Regions from separate parts of the Homo sapiens genome. Here region 2 is linked to region 1. The links are contacts of gene promoters, found by promoter capture Hi-C in blood cells and fetal thymus (Javierre and others, 2016). All regions are on one chromosome and are shown on one strand. The core of a region is centred on a gene start or on the middle of the fragment in contact, and the rest is flanking DNA. Distances in the headings are between cores, read along the strand shown.

Region 1 (2,700 bases), core at 89-2,588:
GACTACAGTGCACGCCACCACGCCCACCTGATTTTTGTATTTTTAGTAGAGACGGAGTTTCACCTTGTTGGCCAAGATGGTCTCCGTCTCTTAACCTCATGAACCGCCAGCCTCGACCTCTGCAAGTGCTGGGATTACAGGCGAGTCACGGTGCCTAGCAAGGATTGTCTTGCTGCAACTAGTTCGTCTACCCTCGGCCCACAGCTGATTTGGATATATTCGCAGTGGCTCACGCCTGTAGTCCCAGCACTTTGGGAGACCGAGGTGGGTGATCACCAGATCGAGTTTGAGACCATCCTGGCCAACATGGTGAAACCCCGTCTCTACTAAAAATACAAAAATTAGCCGGGTGTAGTGGTGGGAGCCTGTAGTCCCAGCTGCTCAGGAGGCTGAGGCAGGAGAATGGCGTGAACTCAGGAGGCAGAGCTTGCAGTGAGCCGAGATTCCGCCACTGCACTCCAGCCTGGGAGAGTGAGACTCCGCCTCAAAAAAAAAAAAAACCCTTACGGTTAGAAACTACACAAAAACGAAGCCCACAGCTGTTTCAGTATGTTTAAGTGGCTCTGAAAAGAGCCTTTGGGTTAGAAATGACGTTTACTTAGCAGGCTTACTTGGAGCTGGTGTACTTAGTGACAGCCTTGGTGCCCTCAGACACAGCATGTTTAGCCAGCTCTCCCGGCAGTAGCAAGCGCACTGCTGTCTGAATCTCTCTGGAAGAAATGGTGGAGCGCTTGCTGTAGTGAGCCAAACGTGATGCCTCGCTCGCTATACGCTCAAAGATATCAGTGACGAAGGAATTCATAATGCTCATAGCTTTCGAAGAGATGCCAGTGTCCGGATGGACCTGCTTTAGCACTTTGTAGATGTAAATAGAATAACTCTCCTTACGGGTCCTCTTGCGCTTTTTGCCTTCCTTTTTCTGGGTCTTAACGACAGCTTTCTTAAAGCCCTTCTTGGAAATGGTAGCACCTTTAGATGACACCTCCGGCATAGCTACCACACACTTCTGCAGCGTTACACGGTTCTTTTCCAGGGTTACACAGCACTTTCCAGTGCTCAACAGCTCTTCAGTATTAAACAGCTCCAAATGACCTCAGCTCCAAGTCTCGCCAAGTAAACAAACAGAACTGGAGGATGAAAGATGCGGTATTTATAGGCACGGCCCTCAAACGCCGCGTTCGGTATCCAAAATCTGATTGGACAATGGGAAGTGGCGTGAATGCAAATGAGGCGATTCTAGTACGACTTTCTGATTGGGTAGACGGCCATCAGCCAATCAGATAGCAAATGCCAACCTCAGTCAGACTATAAATAGGCCCAGTAGCAGCCCTAGAAATGTGGTTCTCGTGTTGCTGCAATTTGATGCGAGGAGATGTCTGGACGAGGGAAGCAGGGAGGAAAAGCACGCGCCAAGTCTAAGTCTCGCTCTTCTAGAGCGGGTTTGCAGTTTCCCGTAGGCCGGATCCATCGTCTGCTTCGTAAGGGAAACTATGCAGAGCGGATAGGGGCAGGCGCACCAGTGTATTTGGCGGCAGTGTTAGAGTATCTCACAGCAGAAATCCTTGAGCTGGCAGGCAATGCGTCTCGCGATAACAAAAAAACTCGCATTATTCCCCGCCACCTGCAGCTAGCGATCCGCAATGATGAGGAACTCAATAAGCTTTTGGGCGGCGTGACCATTGCCCAGGGCGGAGTCCTGCCTAACATTCAGGCAGTGCTGCTGCCCAAGAAGACTGAGAGTCACCACCATAAAGCCCAAAGCAAGTAACTTAAGGTTGTCATTGGTAAAAAGACTTCTGTGTCAGAAAAAACAAAAGGCTCTTTTCAGAGCCACCTACCGTCTCAGAAAAAGGCTGTACGTTACAAAACGTTACTGCTGTTAACCAGCCATCTTACTTGCCTGTCACAAATGCCCGTTTAAGCGCATTTCGGGAATGTACGGGGACTGAATTTTCAAGGAGCGTTCCATCGGCCATTAGTTTGAGGTAATTTTGGTTATATATGTCACTGGGCGAGGTGGCTTAACGCTTGTGAGCAGTCAGTACTTGCACTTCAGTGGAGGTTGGAGCGGGAGGGTCGTTCAAGCCTGGGGCTTGACCGTTAACATAATTGAGACCCTGTCCCCACAGAAACTAGCTGGGTCTGGTGATGCAGGCCTGTAGTCCCAGCTGTTCGGGAGGCTGCGGTGGGAGGGTTGTTCATGAGTCCGGGAGGCGAAAGTTACAGTGAACGAAGATTGATTGCTCCACTGCACTCCAGTCTGGGTGACATGAGCGAGACTATCTCAAACTAGATTTATGTATGTTAGTTATGTTAAGGGTTACACATGGAAGTGAAAATTGCATTACAAGCAGGAGAGGTGTAATCTTCCTGTTTAAATCCAGGTAACATCAGTCTGGCTGGTTAAAGTACATTTTAGAGAATTTCCTTTCAAATATGGTAGTTTCACGAAATACTCATAATTAAATGTGGCATGTAAGTAAGTTAATCTTAAAATTTGGGTAAGCATATATATTTGATACCTGTGGTTTCACGTACTTTGTAAAGAATAATAGAATTATTTCTTAAAATGTAAGTAAAATATGTCAAAAAGAAGCCTTACGCCATATGTGATGGTGAGATACTAGTGTTAGACTCAGGCAGGAATGGGACTAGAAGGCCGAACATAATTTGAAGTTTAGAAATTTGGAAGAGTATATG
Region 2 (2,700 bases), core at 29-2,528, 150 kb before region 1:
CCCAGACTGGACTGTGGAATAGAGTTTGACCTAGAGTAAAGAAAGAAGCATGCGTACAAAACACAACCTTTGACTTTGGAGTCCAGAGGAGAAATAGATGTAGCTGCCCAATAAACCCACAGGGTAATGAAAAGTGAAGCAATTACATGGTTGAACAATTATCTTCTAGGCCGTCCTTTTTGAAAGTCCAACCAAAAGCATTATGTCTGGGAATCAGAGGCATTATCAATAGAAATAAAATACATAAAACGTGCAGTAAAGAGAAGAATTTTAACCCTTTTGGAGTATGACTGACCTAGAGTAAAAAATATACATTTTTAAAGTGTGCTGCAATACTAATATATAGGCTTATATGTAAACACATGTGTTGCAGCATCGAAAGTTTCACAAAATAATCCTGACTCTTACTAAGTGGGATGCACTATGATCTGTTCCATTCTATTTGGGCCTCATCCATCTTGTTTAAAAAACCATAGTGGCTAAATTGATAAGAGGTGCTAAATTGATAAGAGTAATGACCTGTAGGTTGAAAATCATTGGGATGATGGGAGTGACCAATCAGACAACTTGGCACTGCACCCACAAGGCTGCAACAATTGGTTCAAATGGTAATAAAGTACTCTGGGCTGGGCCAATAAGAGCCTCTCCTAGGTTTTGAACACAGCTGCTTTTTCTTCGCTTTCATGGATGTGATGAATGAGACTCCAAAACTGCCAACAGACTTGTCTGTTGCCTCTTGGAGTAGATTTAAGAGAAGGGAGAAGGTGCAAAAGAACAGCTGAAATAAGAGTTCCAAAGGTCTTCATTTATTTTGGGGCAGAGATTTAATTCCAGTCTCTGGTCCCTGGAACTGTGCTTGTTACAGCTGCTCATTCTTATATTCTGTGACCTACCTCAGTCTCCATATTTTCTTTTTCTCTTTCTTTCTCTTCCAAAGCCATTTCAGTTGGACTTCTATCACTTGTAAGCACAGGTGTCTGACAAATAGAAGCCACAACTGAGTACAATAAAAACTAAACTCTGCAATACAAAGGCCAATAAATAGGTTTGGCCCTTAATCCTCTCTTGTAACAACATTGACATGATCTTGCTCCTCATCCTGGTTTAGCACCAAGAGAAAAATAAGAGTCTGAGTGGGAGAGGGAGGAATCAAAAGGAACTGAGCCAAATTAAGAGCTTTTGGTGTAAATGTTGGAAGCTGAGAAAAGCCATGTCAAGCCGCAGCAAACTCCCCTTCATAAAGGAGGCAGAGGGAAAAAATAAAATAAAAAAGAGGAGAATAAGAGAGAAATTACCCTTTTCATTTTTCTCCAAGCTAAGACTTGCAATCTAGCTACACTTTAAGTGATTGATGTGGTCACTAGGGGCTAAGAAATAAAAATGTTTCAGGTAAGAACATGGAGCTCCCAGATTCAAAATGCCAGCACCTCATACACCCATCCCGGCAGCACAACCAACATTCACCCTCATCTGCTAAGACAAGTTCTCAGAATCAGAAAGTTCATTAACCTGAACTTCAGTAGTAAATAACATTTAAGTTTTGGAAAGGTATTCTTCTATTTGGCAATTCAACACCATCGCTTGTAACAAAAACCAATAGACAAGTACAACTCAACATCCTCAAGACAGAGCACCAAAATTAACAGAAAAACTAGAACCCCTCTCCAAACTAGAAGAATGTTAGTATAAATATTTAACATAAATAAATGAATAATATCAGAAATATATGCTGACATACTTAAAACAAAAATTAGATATGTGAAAAGGAAGGTTTTCTTAGAAATGACAAATATCCTTAGAATTAGGGAAGAAGGAAAGAAATAAGAAAGGAAGGGAAAGAGGAAGGAAAGAATAAGAAAAAAATGAAGCAGGGAAGAAGGAAGGAAAGGAGAGAAGGAGGGAAGGAGGGAGGAAGGAAGAAGGAAAGAAGGAAGGAAGGAAGGGAAGGAAGGTAGGCAGGTGATCTCAGGAATTTGGAAGAAAATTGATACAGGTGAAATTCACAGTAATGCCAAGATACAAAAGGAAGAATAATGAGAGGGAAATTTTATAGGAAACTGATGTTGAAAGTTGGTTTCAATGTTTGCGTAACAGATGAAATAGTCTGGAGGGTAAGAGAATGGACACAACAGCCAGACTTTCTGGGTGGTTGGATTCCTGACTCCGTAGCTTACTAGCAAGTTACTTAACCTCTCTGTAAACTGGCATAATAATAGTACCTACCATAGAAGTTTGCTATGAGAAGTAAAAGTGTTATTGTATGTAAAGTGCTTAGAATAGTGTTCAGCACGTATTTAGTGTTAAATAGGCCTTATTACAAGGAGTCTCTGAAAAGGGGGTGAGGGGCAGAGTAGAAGAATGATTACAAAGAAAGAGATAACCACCATCTTTATTTGAGGATATATTTAGTAAATTAAATTATATGGAAAATTATTTTGGAATATTGGTTGGAATGGCATATGGATTAGTCTGGAGAGACGAGATTTTTACATTTTTGAATGTTCCTGTTCATAAAAATGTTATGTCTCTTTATTTAGTTCGACTTCAATACCTTACAATAAAGCTTTACAATTTTCTGCGTAACGATCTTCTACATCTTTTATTAGATTTATTCCTAGGTTTTATATCCTTTTGTGGCTGTTACATTCTTTTATTGCCATTGTGAATTGTATCTCTTTTTATAATATCTTTTTTTTTGTT

The links. The method cuts DNA at HindIII sites, captures the fragments that hold promoters and counts their contacts. A CHiCAGO score of 5 or more calls a contact.
Region 2: a fragment that was not itself captured here is called in contact with the fragment with the promoter of H2AC1 in region 1 in 1 of 17 cell types (megakaryocytes); the score reaches 5.7 in megakaryocytes.

Annotation. Positions count from the first base shown.
Region 1 is chr6:25,725,200-25,727,899 of GRCh38, reverse strand. It overlaps H2AC1 (H2A clustered histone 1), which reads left to right and starts at 1,338. Exons shown (of 1, transcript NM_170745.3): 1 at 1,338-1,837. The coding sequence starts at 1,373. The coding sequence ends at 1,768. It overlaps H2BC1 (H2B clustered histone 1), which reads right to left and starts at 1,123. Exons shown (of 1, transcript NM_170610.3): 1 at 555-1,123. The coding sequence starts at 991. The coding sequence ends at 608. It also overlaps a transcript of SLC17A1 not described here. The HindIII fragment of the contact is 12,318 bases long and covers 1-1,662 here.
Region 2 is chr6:25,878,159-25,880,858 of GRCh38, reverse strand. No RefSeq gene overlaps it. Among named protein-coding and RNA genes, the nearest start is that of SLC17A3, 5.3 kb to the right of the region's middle. The HindIII fragment of the contact is 2,575 bases long and covers 1-2,565 here.